Linked DNA regions of Homo sapiens: regions 1, 3 and 4 are each linked to region 2. The links are contacts of gene promoters, found by promoter capture Hi-C in blood cells and fetal thymus (Javierre and others, 2016). All regions are on one chromosome and are shown on one strand. The core of a region is centred on a gene start or on the middle of the fragment in contact, and the rest is flanking DNA. Distances in the headings are between cores, read along the strand shown.

Region 1 (3,051 bases), core at 1-2,500, 710 kb before region 2:
CTGGCTAGTTGCCTCGCCTAAAATTGGGGTGATGGCTTCATCCGACCACACTCTCCATTGCAACCTTGCTGGGCAAAGGAGTCCCGTCCCCCTCACAAGGCGGAGAGTGAAATAACGGAGGCTTTGAGGGAGGCAGGGCATCCAGCAGACACAGGATGGCCTTCCAGTACCAACACGCCGAGAGGCATCTACCTACGCAGAGCCGCACAAAAAGGCGGATAAAACACAATAAGGCACAGAGAAGACCCAGCTGGACTGCAAAGGACACTCGAAAGGGAGGAAAAGAAAGGCTTAGCACAGTCCTTGAAATTGTAGGCCCCACCCTGGACTGCTCTTTCTTCAAATAGCAGGAGCCCCTGCCGCTGAGGAGGGGCATCTGGGCCTGGACCGAGGAAGAAGAGTCTCTGAGGGGAGTAGGCCAACGGGGTTTTCGGGGAAAGGGGGAAGATAAACACCCTCACCAGTCACTGTCACTAGCCCAAGGACAAAGGCTGCAGATGCTACCCAGCCTGAGGTCTCCATGGGCAACCGAGGTGGGGTTGCGGGAATGTGCTTACTGCCCCCACTGCTGTTCCTTCTGGAACATTCCCTGGATCCCCTGGCCCCAGAAGACGATGAGGAGGCGGGCTGAGGGCCCACTCTGGCGAGGCCCCCTGACCCCAGGTCCTTCTACTTCATCCCCACCGGGATTAGCGCAAGATGGGAACGGACGCTGAGAGGCAACGCTAGGCGGGCAATGGGTGCGGGCGACGGGTGGATGCCGTGATGGGTGGGGGCGATGGGTGGGCGGGGTCGTGGGCATCGGGCCGAGTGGGGGTGCGTTTTCCGGTCCAGCGGGCAGGGGTAGGGAAGATGGGAGGGCGCCGGGGGTCGGACCCGGGTAGCCCAGGAGGCGGCCAGGAAGGGGGCCTCTTCGGGGAGATGGGGTCATGGCAACGAGCAGAGGCGACGTCGCTGGGGGAGCAGCGGGGTGGGCACGGCGCCGGCTTTTCGGGGAGCGGAGCGCAGAAGATGGCAGTGACCAGAGGATGGGCCGGCGGCCGCATCATCGCGGGGGATGGCGAGGGCACGACGCAGGGCCAGGGGCGCCGGGGCCGCACTTACGGTGAGACCGGTCCCCAGCACGATCACATCGTATTCCTCGTCCATGGTCAGGCCTCGGTGCCAGCGCCCGCTCGGCTCCTCCTCCTCCTTCACCGCAGCAGTCGCCGCCGCCACCGCCGCCGCCGCCACCGCACTGGACCAAAGATGGCGGCGCGTCGGCCGTCGCCCGACCCCTCCGCCGCGTCAAAGAGTCCCGCCTCTTCCCGCGCCCCGCCGCAACCGGCAGGGGCCACCGCCTCCCCGGCTCGCCTCCCGGGAGGGCTGCCAGGGCCCGGGCCACAGCACCAGCGCGGCTCCGCGGGCGACGCTGCTCGCCGAGAGTCTAGAGAGGCGCGGGGCGGGGCGGGCGGGGCGGGCCGGCGGCCGGTGCTGCGGCCCAGGAAGAATCCGTGCGCGGGAGCCGCGCGCGCCCCGCCCCACCCGCCGCGCCCCGCCCCGCCCCGCCCCGCGCGCGCCCGCCCACCTCCCCACCCCCGCCCACCCCCCCGGGAGTCTCGGCGCGGCCCCGCGGCCGGGCGCGCGCCGCTGCGGCAGCCTGGGGCGGCCCCCTCACGACGCGAAGGCTGCCATTGTCACGACGGCCTCCTGAGACGCCGAAGCGCACCGGGACTCGGCCCGACCGCCCCTCCCTACCCTGAGCGGTTAGGGCCCAGCTTGCTAAAGCCCCTCCCGGTCTCCGCGGATGCCTCTTCGCCTCCCCCTCGCCAGGCTCCATCCTCCCGCATCCCTCCGGCGAGCACGCGCCTAAAGCCCAGCGCAGAAATGAGCGACAAGAGGCCCAACGCATGGCGACCCGCGTTTATTTTATTAGGAAGGAAACAACCAAGCACCCCATGCTCCTGCCCGGCACTCCCGGTGGGAACATGCCAAACAGCCGGCGATCGCACCCAGCCCACCTGTCGTGGAGGTCCCTTCCTTCTCAGGCCACAGAAATAAACCCGTGTACTTCTTATTGTTAGCACAACATCACCAGAAAACGATAACGACAGCCAAGCAGGACAGACAGTTAAGTAGTACTTCCACACTCCCAAACTCAGGGAGCCCTATAACCTTAAGGAGGGAGCATTTGCTACACAAAAGCACTATCCACAGCCAGGGATGATGTAGCCACAAGAATAAATAAGGAGAAAGGAGACCCTAGAATTCATGTCCCTTACGCCTCACAGCGACGAACCCTGGGAAGCTGGTTGGTCTAGCATCTACGCAGAATATGTACACCTTGTTGGGAGAGATGGGGGCAGCCCAAGAAAGCTCCTCAGCGGGCTGAAGAGGGAGCAAGATGGGCTGAGGGGAGCTTGCAGTTCATGCTGCAGTAGGAAGAGGGAAGCTCTTCAGTCCAGTGCGCTGCAGGGTGGGAAAGCAACAACACGGACACCGTCCCACCCTCAACCCCCCCACTGGCACAGGGTCACACAATCTGGGTCAAAGAAATAGTGGGGCCCTTGTGGTCATCAAAGCGATCCATGGTCTTGAGGCTGAGGATCATGTGCAGGCCATAGGTGAAGATGAAGAGCATGAACAGGGAGGTGAGCAGCCCCATCCAGATGCCGGGGGAGAAGAAGCTGGCACAGTCGCTGGCGTAGGAGAACTGCTCCCCCATTACGTTGAAAGCCTGGATCTGGCAGACACACAGACACGGGTCAGAAAGGACCGTTGGGAGGCCCAGCAAGAACTGGGACAGGGGCAGCGCAGGGACAGGACTCTCAACTACATGCCCAAGCCCAAGCCTCTCTTCGTCTCTCAACCACTAGCCTGGGCTCCCCCACCTGAAGCTGGGCCACGCCCGCTCCATACCTGGAAGTCCTGAAGCATCATCTGCCAGGGAGAGGGCTGCGTGCGGGCCACGAGGAGACTACCCTTCTTGCTCAGGCTGCTGACATACTCGCAGTGGAAGGAGTAGATGCTGGGCCCTGTGACCTGGGAAGCATTGAAGTAGGCGACGGAGCC
Region 2 (3,482 bases), core at 1-2,500:
GGACGATGCAGCGGGCCAGCCTTCCGTCCAGGCGGGCCACATACACCGACAGGAAGGTGCGGCTCACCAAGGCGGCCGAGTGCAGGGCCAGCAGCCCCGTCTCCCGGCACAGGACCCGGGGGAACAGCAGCCGCAGGAGCCACAGGAGCCGCTGCAGGAATACCCGGTTCATGCCAGCTTTGGCCGCCGCGACCCCGGAGGCCTCCTGCGTGGGCTCCCCGGCGGGCGCCTGAAGACCCCTGGCCGGGGCCAGGCACTGGCGCACCAAGGGGTAGACTTTGTGGGCTCCATAGGCCGCGAGGGCCAGGAGCACGGCCGTGCGCTTCAGCGTGTTCCCCCGCCAGGGCCGGGGCCTGGAGAGCACCGGCATGTCACCTGGGCTGGCTGCCGCGTAGGGACTGGGGCTGGTGCCTGGGGCAGCAGTTGAGGCAGGTGGCTGGAAGGATTGTTGCTCTGACCCTGGGCCTGTTGTCTAGGCAACTGGAAACCTTGCGATGGCCCCTGAGACTGTCGCTTTAGGCCCCCGGGGTGGTGCTGGGGCCCCTGGTGCGGTGGGCTCAGGGCCCTCCAGGGTCGCGGCCTCTTCGGGCAGCCCAAGTGGAGGAACTTGGCTCTCCTGTCCTGTCAGTGCCCTGGCCCCTGAGGTCAGGGCCTTGAGAGGTCTCGGGCAGAGGGGGCGTCTCTTCCTCTCCACCTTCTCCTCCTCCTCCTCCCCCGGTGGCGCCCCTCCCCGGGGCACCAGGCGCGTCCGTCCGCTCCGCAGCCTGGCTGAAGCGACAGTGACTCCTCCACCGGCCCAGAATCCCCACCCACTCTTCCCCAGGGGCGAGTCGGGGGAAGGGGAGGAGGCGGAGGAGGGGCGAGGGGCGGAGTCCGGGCGCGGGAGCCCCACCCTGTTCTCGCCCCTCGGCGGGGCCCGCCCACACCCCCACCTCCCGTTCTCGCCCCTCGGCGGGGCCCCTCCCGCACCACAGAGACGTGGGACGGCCGCGCGGACTAGAGAAGCGGCCCTCGCCGGCCCGACAAAGCCCCGCCCCGCCCCGCCCGCGTGCTCGCTCCACCCCGCCCTGCTCGCCCGGAGCCCGAGGCGCCTCTTCCTCTCCCGCTCGGAGCGCCGGCCCTCCGCTCCGGGGCGGGGTGGGAAGCGGAGGTGGGCGGAGCCTCCGGGGCCTCGCGAGGGCTGGTGGGCGGTGCCCGGCGGGCGCTTCCGGTTTCCGGCCGCGGTATGAGGGGCGGGGCCGGGGCTGCTGTGGGAGAGTTCTGTTGCTGCGGCGGGGCCTGCACGTTGACTGTGGGAAACTCGGTGAGCGGGCTCCGCGCGCCGGGCTGGGCTCCGGGACCGCGGAGGCTCCCCGGCCCATCGACGAGGGAGAGAGGCGAGCGGCGCGGGGAGGCCCGGGGGCCGGGGAATCTCGGGGCCCGCAGCCTACCTGCGTGTGAGAGGCAGGGGCGAGGGGAAACCGGGCGGCGCCTCTAGAAGCTGGTCTCGGGGGCGGGGCGGGGGGCGGTGAAGCCCCACCTGGAGGAGCGGCCGGGATGGGCCTCCGGGACGGTGTGCCAGGCCGGGGCCAAGTCGGAGGCCCCTCGCTCTGGGTGGGCGCTGGGGCCCGCGAGGGCTACTGTAAGGACCCCTGGCTTCTGAGGATACTGCGTCTAGAACTTTCTCCGTATGGGGCCTTGAGGTGCTTGGTCGAGACCTGCCTTTGCGCTTGGTCCCGAATCCTGCCCTCTAGGAGTCGCTCTTGCGGGCCTCCAGCCCACCGGAGGCGAAGCGGCCCCGGGCGGAAGGCCGCTGGATCCTCGAGGGAGGTGCCGGTTTCTCTCCGCGGGCGCCGTGGGGACGGTGGGAGGCGGGGGCGTCGGCAGCGCTTGGACTAGGTGCGGCCTTGGGCCTGCCTGGTAGCGGGGATTTGGGCCCGCAGAGCGCCCGCCTCTGCGGCTGAGTTCTGCCTGGCGGGGAAGGGAGCGCCCGATGGGTGCCGAGGCGTCCTCCTCTTGGTGCCCTGGCACTGCTCTTCCCGAAGAACGCCTTTCAGTTAAACGGGCGTCGGAAATCTCGGGCTTCCTGGGGCAGGGATCGTCGGGAGAGGCCGCTCTGGACGTGTTGACACACGTGCTGGAGGGGGCAGGTAATTGACCAGCGAACGGAAGTTTGTGGGGCCTGTGAACGCTGCTGGCCAAGAGGCCCTGCCGAGTGGAGCCCTGCTTCCGCCAGCGCATCAGAGACTTTGAAGCAAAGTGCAGGGGGTCAGGGTGGAGAGTGGCGGCCCCAGCCTCGCAGGGTAACTGAACTGGATGTTCTTGGCTGCCCAGCGCTTACAAGTCCCGTACCTTTTGTGCCCTGCCAGGAAACAAGCTCACATCTTCCTGTGGGAAACCTTCTAGCAACAGGATGAGTCTGCAGTGGACTGCAGTTGCCACCTTCCTCTATGCGGAGGTCTTTGTTGTGTTGCTTCTCTGCATTCCCTTCATTTCTCCTAAAAGGTATGGCCTATGGAGCAAGCAGGCGAGTTAGGCAGGAGGGTGCCTGTGCCCTAGCCCTGGGACTGGTGTGTGCAGCTGGTGGACCCTGGAATTGGGACCCGATGGAACAGGTAGAACCTGTCTGGGGTGGGGGTGGCAGGGGTTGTGTTTGTTATTGCCAACCCTTCCCAGGGTTCTGCTTCGTCATGACTTGCTCAGTTCCTTTTCCTGTGTCCCCTGCCTTCTGGTCTTCAGAATGCCCCCGAGAGGCAGGAAGATCTATGTTACAGTTCTGGAAATGATGCCCTCCCACCCACTCTTGGTCCACGGGGTGCTGGGATGGTAGCGTGGGATTCGGAAGACTTGCACCACTGGGTCACGTTGTTGCTGATTTGGTGACTCTTGTCCTCCTAACTAGTCTCACTGGTATTGCGCAGTGGCTGCATGAACATTACTCAGCCTGTGGAGGATGAAGCCATATTCCCTTTTAATGAACAGAGGACCTGTTAAAAGTGAATTGGAGATTAATTTTAATTATGTATAATACCTGAACACATCCCTATTTAAATTACGATATTACAAATAAGGCCAAATCTCCACAGGTATTTTTAAAAGCCGTTTTTTCGTGAAAAATTATCTTTGATGTGATACCATAGAAAGTATGCAGTGCTGTCTGAGGAGGATTCTTGTAGAAAACCACACCTTCGTACAGTTGACAAGACGTGCAGAGATAGAGGGCCCCGGGGAGCTTTAATCTGGGAAGCTTTAGAGGACAGACAATCTGATTTCTACACAAAGGAAACTGGAAAAGCAAATGAAAGAGGGAGAGGGAAGGGGGAGCTTCCAGAATAAGCTGGATTTAAGACGTTTATCTACCGAATGCCAAATCGGTACCTTGTTGGGTCCGGATTCAAACAAATATCATTGCCTTCAGTGATTGGCATATTCAACTCTAGCCCTGATGATGAGGGCTTCTTGTTGATTTGAACAATATGTAAACACTTCTGAAGTCTCTTCTT
Region 3 (3,721 bases), core at 51-2,550, 720 kb after region 2:
ACATCTTAAAGCCCAGACACTTGGGCCAATGGGAGGCTGGGAGGAGCTAAGACTGCTTGTGTTAGGCTATAGCCTCAGCAGTAGCTGCCCAGACCAGATTGCTGGCAGTCTCAGTATGTTACTGGTCAGCTTCTTCTCTAGCTTTTTCTAAAACTATTCTCCACTCTTTGGAGGTAAGTAGTGCATTTTGTAAATATTGCACATTCTCCCAGTTAGGATTATGAGTAGTGTAAATGGAGAACACATTTTCCATCCTCCTTGGGTCACCCCAGTAGGTAAGCATGTTATCCTTCCAATGGTATAGGTCAGAGACTGAGAATGGCACGTGTACCCACACAGGTCCCGCTGGCTGACCCTGGGCATTGATTCTGCCAATGGGTACTTGCCTAATGGAATTGCCCTACCTCAACCAGAGTGGCTCCCTGACGATATTGAGTGCCCTGTCAGGTGTGTGAAGGAGAGAGCACTCCTGGCCTGTTTACGTCACTATTATTCCCCAGTCCAGCCAGGGTAATAGGGGCTCCCATTCCTGCCTGAGCAGGGGGGCGGGGCCATTGCTCTGGCTTCCATATCTCGCCCCCCATAAGGTGGAGAGATAGGATTGGTGCATTCATTTGTTGAAGTAGTAAGTCATCTTCTGATTTTTGAGAACCGGGTAAAACCTTTACCTCTTTCACCTTAGAGGCATTTCTTTCAACCATGATTCTATGCAAATTATACCTTCTTTGAATTAGCTCACTTTGGTACAAAAGCATAAAAGCTTGTACATTCAGAATTTCATCCCATTTACCTTCTTGTTCACAAAACAATTCTAATTGAAAAATTATAATGTAATTTAGATATCTAAATTCTGGCTACCATTCCCTGGATCCTAGGGGATACCGTGGTCAGGCAGAATTTCAACATTAAAAACATTTTTCTTTTTCATGGGCTCAAAGCTAAAAATGGCCCGATTCTGCAGAATGCACCATAATGGGCTACAAGGAGGAACATAATTTGTAGTTTCCATTTTAGATGACAAGACCTTAGGTGAAAAACCCTTAATGCCTCAGCTGGGCTTTAGGCAGATTGTCAAGCAAGCAAATCAAAATCAAAATGTGATTTCTCAAAGTCTCCATCCCTTCAGTTGCTTATGGAGTATTCCCTACTAAACACACTATGATGAAGCAGAGTCCCGTAAATTGCCAAAGCAAGGCCAGATGTCCTGCCAATGCAGAACGTAGTGTTTGAAGAAAATATACCTTGGGGCTATTGCCCACAAATTTGTCACCTGCCAAAAAATGTCTTCCCAGCCAAGTGTCTCATTTCTAATGCTGCAAAAGTAAAAGCAACACAAGCCAGTGATGCCTTGGTGGCAGCCAAATACACAGATCCATCCCTGAATAAAATAATTCAGGCAGCTACTGGACAGGGTCCAAGGGTGCTCATAGCCAGGGGCTGATATGCTATTGGCAAGACACCCACTCAGGGCTTTTGAGTTGTGGCCAAGTGTTATTGAACTGAACTGGAGTTGTCTTGCCCATCACAGTAAGATCAGATATCCACACTGAGGTTTGCAGTGGTGGAAAGGAAGACATTTATTTGCAGGGCACTAAGCAAGGAGGATCAGGCAGCTAACGCTCAAATCCAGAGCTCCGTGATGGCTTGCAGGTAAGGGCTTTTAAAGGTAGGAGTAAATTTCAGGAAAGCAGAAGTTACAGGCTAATTCATAAATCATTACACAGAGGTTACCCATTGGTTTTGGCCTAAAAGGGTGGGATATCTTGAAGTGAGGGCTTACAGGCCATAAGTAGGTTCAAAGGTCTTTTGGTTTGCAGTTGGTTAAGCAAGAGAAGCTTTGTTTAAAATTTTTGGGTCAGCAGAAAAGAATATTAGCTCTGACAGATGGATGTGATTTCCTCCAGGCCCCTCATGAAGAAGTTTGGAACAAAGAGTGGTGGTCAGAGTTCAGTCCTCAGCTCCCCCTTTTCTGGGGTCTGCATGCCAGCTGATCAGTTTGGTGGGGATCCAAGTTTCTGAAAAACAACTCAGAGATATATGTTAACATGTTATCTTTAGTTTCTATAGGGAAAGAAAACATCCTGTGATTGTAGCTTCCTTGGCTGTTGTTTTAAGCTATTACCTTCTTGCTTATCAACTTGCTTATTTACTTCTCAGGGCTAGCTAGGTGCCTGGCATTGCCCCTGAAAGAACTCAACATTTTCCTTTATTTATATGCTTAAGGGGGCCTGCAGACCCCTGAGACGGGGTCCCTGCTCCATCTCACTTTCCTCATTGTGTATTCTTGGCAGCTTTGTTGAAAATTAATTGTCCATGTATGCTACTGTATGATCCAGCAATTCCACTATGGATAGATATCCTAAGCAAATAAAATCACTATCTCTAAGTGGTATCTGGACTCTCTTGTCCATTTCAGCATTATTCACAATAGCTAAGATAAGAAAACAACCTAAGTGACCACTGACAGATGAATGGATAAAGAAAATGTTTTTTATATATCTATATTATATATATTATATATAATATATATAATATATTATATATAAATGTCTTATATATATTTTTATATAATATTTAATATATAATATAATATATATTATATAATATATATTTTATATATTATATATATTATATATTATATATATATTATATATAATATATATAATATATATTTATATATATTTTATATATAATATATATAACATATATTTATATATATATTATTTATATATATTATATATATATTTTATATATATTATATAGTATATGTATTATATATTATATATATTATATATAATTTTCTTTATTATATATATTATATATAATATGAATATACTATATATTCATATCATATATTATATATTCATATTATATATATAACATATATATGTTATATATATAACATATATATGTTTTATATATGTTTTATTTATATATATATATATATATATTCACAAGCAGCCTTAAAAAAAGAAGGAAATGCTGCCCTTGGCAATAACATGAATGAACCTTGAGGATATTATGCTAAGTGAAATAAACCAGACACAGGAAGCCAAACATTGCATGCTCTTGTATGTGAAATCTTTTTTTGTTTGTTTTTTGAGACAGGGTCTCATTCTGTTGGCCAGGCTGGAGTGCAGTCACAGCTCAGTATAGCCTCAACCTCCCGAGCTGAAGCAATCCTCCTACCTCAGCCTCAGGAGTAGCTGGGACCACAGGCATGTGCCATCACACCCAGACACTTTTTAAATTTTTTTTGTAGAGACAGGGGTCTCCTTATGTTGCCCAGGCTGGTCTCGAACTCCCAGGCTCAAGGCATCCTCTTGTATCAGCCTCCAAAAGTGCTGGGGTTACAGATGTGAACCACTGCAGCCAGCCATATGTGAAATCTTTAAAAAGTGAACGTCAGGCCAGGCGTGGTGGCTCACACCTGTAATCCCAGCACTTTGGGAGGCCCAGGCGTGCGGATCACGAGGTCAGGAGCTTGAGACCAGTCTGGCCAACATAGTGAAACCCCGTCTCTACTAAAAATACAAAATATTAGCCGGGTGTGGTAGTGTATGTGCGCCTGTAATTCCGGCTACTCAGGAGGCTGAGGCAGGAGAATCGCGTGAACCCAGGAGTCAGAGGTTGCATTAAGCCGAGATCGCACCATTGCACTCCAGCCCGGGCAACAGTGGGAGATTCCATCAAAAAAAAAGAAAATGAAAAAGAAAGTGAA
Region 4 (3,750 bases), core at 537-3,036, 680 kb before region 2:
TATGTAATACAAGAAACAGTATTTTATACCATCTGATACAGTCACAATGTCAGCTACTACCTCTAGTTCTGAAACATATTCATGACCCGGAAAGAAAGCCCCCTATGCATTAAGCAGCCAGTTTTTTATTTTTATTTTATATTTATTTATTTATTATTATTTTTTTAGGAGTCTCGCTCTGTCGCCAGACTGGAGTGCAGTGGCACAATCTCGGCTCACTGCAACCTCCGCCTCCCGGGTTCAAGCTATTCTCCTGCCTCAGCCTCCTGAGTAGCTGGGACTACAGGCGCAGGTCGCCACGCCCGGCTAATTTTTTTTTTTTTTTGTATTTTAGTAGAGATGGGGTTTCACCATGTTGCCCAGGTTGGTCTCGAACTCCTGAGCTCAGGCAGTCCACCCACCTCAGCCTCCCAAAGTGCTAGGATTACAGGCATGGGCCACCGCACCCGGCAGTTTTTTATTTTTATTTTTATTTATTTTTATTTTTGAGACAGAGTCTTGCTCTGTTGCCCAGGCTGGAGTGCAGTGACGAGATCTCAGCTCATTGCAACCTCTGCCTCCCAGGTTCAAGCGATTCTTCTGTCTCAGCCTCCTGAGTAGCTGGGATTACAGGCGCAAGCCACCACACCTGGCTAATTTTTGTATTTTTAGTAGAGGCTGGGTTTCTTCATGTTGGTCAAGCTGGTCTCGAACTCCCGGCCTCAGGTGATCTGTCTGCCTCTCCTCCCAAAGTGTGAGTCATCCTACCTGGCCTGTTTTTTATTTTTAAACCATAATTTATTGATTTTTTTTTTTGAGATGGAGTCTCGCACTGTCGCCCGGGCTGGAGTGCGAGTGCAGTGGTGTGATCTCGGCTCACTGCAAGCTCCGCCTTCCAGGCTCAAGCAATTCTCCTGCCTCAGCCTCCTGAGTAGCTGGGATTACAGGCGCCCACCACCACGCCGGGCTAATTTTTTGTATTTTTAGTAGAAACGGGTTTCATTATGTTGGCCAGGCTGGTCTTGAACGCCTGACCTCGTATCCACCCGCCTCAGCCTCCCAAAGTGCTGGGATTACAGGCATGAGCCACCACGCCCAGCCCATAATTTATTGATTTTTTAAAATTTGTCCAGCCTTCTATTACCACGTCGAATCCATTAGCTACAGCCATCCCATGAGAAGCTGAGTGGATTCAGCCCCACCTCCTGCTCACAGACCCTGTCCGAGCACCTCATTTGTCCCAACAGCATTACTGCAGGACCCCCAGGACGTTGGACTGCCAGCTCCCTGGGTCTCCTCCTCTCTGGGGCAGATCCTCAGTCCTCCCTTGACTTCACGACTGTGGCCAGATCATGTGTGGACTGTCCCTCTCTTTGGGTCTCCAGAGCGCTTGCATCAAACACCCCTAACTCAGAAGTGTGCAGCCACACTGGGACTCAGAACCCAACAACAGGGACAGAAGACTCACGCCCTTGGGGTGCCCGGTCTCGTGGCATCAGGCATGACTTCCAGCTCCTGCGCCTTCCCCAGCAACTGCTGACTGGGGACCCAGACCGGGAGCTGAGCGACGGGCCTGGCGAGCGAAGCTCGGGGTCTCACTCAGGCACCAGCCCCTCCTTGCCCCAGGCTTGAGTGACTCACAGGTCTGTCATGTCCCGCTGGCCCGGGAAGGCGGGGTCTGGGTGGGAAGGTGGGCGGGCAGGTCAGCAGTTCCCAGGCCTGGTGCTGGTCCTCCTTGTTGGCGGCGAGGCGGAGACGGGGCGGGCCTGCCTGTTGGCAAGGGTGGGGCGTCCGGCCCAGCCAGGCCCTTCCTGGCCGGGTGGCTCAGGAACACAGCCTCTTCCTCTTTTTTTTCCCCTCCTAGCCCTATTCAGGCAGGAGCTGCTCTTCTGGGGTATCGCGATCCACTTAAGGATGAGGCAGACTTGGTGACAAGCTGGTCTGAGCAGGTATGGGAGCCCCCTGGGGAGACGGAAGAAGGGAGGAAGTTGCCTTCTGCCTGGGGAGGGTTTGAGAGGGAGAGGGAAGCCTAGGGCTCCCACCAAGGCTGATATTGACAGCCAGGGTTTGGGGCTGAAGCCAGGAACCGTCGCTCTCTCTGGTTCTTACTGGTAGCCCTCATGGGGGTCCCTGACGCCAGAGCCTCCAAGGCTGCATGTGCCAGCCCAGGGCTGCCCACATACCCATGTATATCCCAGAATAGGCACCAGGGTAGGGAACCCAAACTAGCATGAGTGACAGAGCAGGTGGTCAGGGAGAAACAGACATCAAACCCAGCCAGGAGAGAGACACCGCAACAGAGAGACAGAGAAGGGAAACCAGAGACGAGAGGGAAAGTGAGACAGAGACGGACAGAGCCTCAGAGAGGTAGGAAGTGAGCCCGAAGGGAAGGTGACAGGTTGATAGAGAAAAGCAGGCAGACAGAGCAGAGGAACTCATGCCTCAGGATGCAAAAGCCACATGGACAGGGCGTGGAGCAAGGAGCCGAGCCCTGCAAGGTCAGGTGAGTGTGAGACAAAGATAAACTGAGAGAGGGGGGCTCCAGCTGGTGAGATGAACAAGAAGGGCTCCCCAGTGGTGGCAGGGGCATGGGAAAGAGTCCCCATCACAGGTTGCAATGGGGATGATTTGGCCATATCTGAGACCTTTTAAAATGCACACACCCTTCACTGCCGGGAGTTTATCTTAAAGAGAACATCTCACAAGTGGGGAGACAGAGATGAACGAAGATGTTCCTGTAGTTGCTAATGGAGGCGAAAAGCACTGGGGTCTTGGAACAACATGGTGAAACCCCATCTCTCCAAACAAATTTTAAAAATTAGCTTGGTAGCCGGGCGCGGTGGCTCACACCTGTAATTCCAGCACTTTGGGAGGCTGAGGTGGGAGGATTACTTGAGGTCAGGAGTTTGAGACCAGCCTGGCCAACATGGTGAAACCCTGTCTCTACTAAAAGTACAAAAATTAGCCGGGTGTGGTGGCACGTGCCTGTAATCCTAGCTACTTGGGAGGCTGAGGCAGGATAATCTCTTGAGCCTGGGAGACGGAGGTTGCAGTGAACTGAGATCAAGCCACTGCACTCCAGCCTGGGAGACAGAGTGAGACTCCATCTCAAAAAAAGAAAAAAAAAATTAGCTTGGTGTGGCAGCATGCACCTGTAGTCCCATCTACTCGGAAGGCTGAGGTGAGAGCATCACTTGAGCCTGGAAGGTGGAGGTTGCAGTGAGCTGAGATCACATTACTGCCCTCCAGCCTGAGCAACAGAATGAGACTATCAAAAAAAAAAAAAAAAAAAAGGGGGGGGGCCGGGCGCGGTGGCTCACGCCTGTAGCCCCAACTACTCAGGAGGCTGAGGCAGGAGAATCACTTGAACCCGGAAGGCAGAGGTTGCAGTGAGCCAAGATCACGCCACTGCACTCCAGCCTGGTGACAGAGCAAGACTCCATCTCAAAAAAAAAAAAAAAAAAAAAAAAAAAGGTAGACTAGGCCAGGCGCAGTGGGTCAGGCCTATAATATCCCAGCACTGGCTGGGCGCAGTGGCTCACACCTGTAATCCCAGCACTTTGGGAGGCCAAGGCCGGCTGATCACCTGAAGTCAGGAGTTCGAGACCATCCTGGCCAAGATGGTGAAACCCTGTCTCTACTAAAAAATATAAAAATTAGCTGGGCGTGGTGGTGGGTGCCTGTAATCCCAGCTACTCGGGAGGCTGAGGCAGGGAGTTGCTTGAACCCAGGAGGCTGAGGTTGCAGTAAGCCGAGATCACGCCACTGCTC

What was found. Contacts are between HindIII fragments. The CHiCAGO score rates a contact against its expected background, and 5 or more counts as called.
Region 1: the fragment with the promoter of GDI1 here is called in contact with the fragment with the promoter of BCAP31 in region 2 in 5 of 17 cell types (monocytes, total B cells, naive B cells and 2 more); the score reaches 6.6 in monocytes.
Region 3: a fragment that was not itself captured here is called in contact with the fragment with the promoter of BCAP31 in region 2 in 1 of 17 cell types (naive CD8 T cells); the score reaches 5.4 in naive CD8 T cells.
Region 4: a contact is called between the fragment with the promoter of DNASE1L1 here and the fragment with the promoter of BCAP31 in region 2, in 2 of 17 cell types (naive B cells and total B cells). The highest score is 6.9, in naive B cells.

What each region holds. Positions count from the first base shown.
Region 1 is chrX:154,435,353-154,438,403 of GRCh38, reverse strand. It overlaps GDI1 (GDP dissociation inhibitor 1), which reads right to left and starts at 1,250. Exons shown (of 11, transcript NM_001493.3): 1 at 1,105-1,250. The coding sequence starts at 1,149. ATP6AP1 (ATPase H+ transporting accessory protein 1) reads right to left here. Exons shown (of 10, transcript NM_001183.6): 9 at 2,899-3,051; 10 at 1,888-2,722. The coding sequence ends at 2,513. RefSeq lists an enhancer at 1,218-1,718. The HindIII fragment of the contact is 14,364 bases long and covers 1-3,051 here.
Region 2 is chrX:153,722,155-153,725,636 of GRCh38, reverse strand. BCAP31 (B cell receptor associated protein 31) reads left to right here and starts at 1,250. Exons shown (of 8, transcript NM_001256447.2): 1 at 1,250-1,303; 2 at 2,349-2,484. The coding sequence starts at 2,393. ABCD1 (ATP binding cassette subfamily D member 1) reads right to left here and starts at 781. Exons shown (of 10, transcript NM_000033.4): 1 at 1-781. The coding sequence starts at 370. RefSeq lists an enhancer at 1-161 and silencers at 622-1,581, 1,792-1,971. The HindIII fragment of the contact is 9,880 bases long and covers 1-3,228 here.
Region 3 is chrX:152,997,564-153,001,284 of GRCh38, reverse strand. No RefSeq gene overlaps it. Among named protein-coding and RNA genes, the nearest start is that of PNMA5, 5.3 kb to the right of the region's middle. The HindIII fragment of the contact is 1,075 bases long and covers 763-1,837 here.
Region 4 is chrX:154,407,290-154,411,039 of GRCh38, reverse strand. It overlaps DNASE1L1 (deoxyribonuclease 1 like 1), which reads left to right and starts at 1,786. Exons shown (of 8, transcript NM_001303620.2): 1 at 1,786-1,928. The HindIII fragment of the contact is 12,936 bases long and covers 1-3,750 here.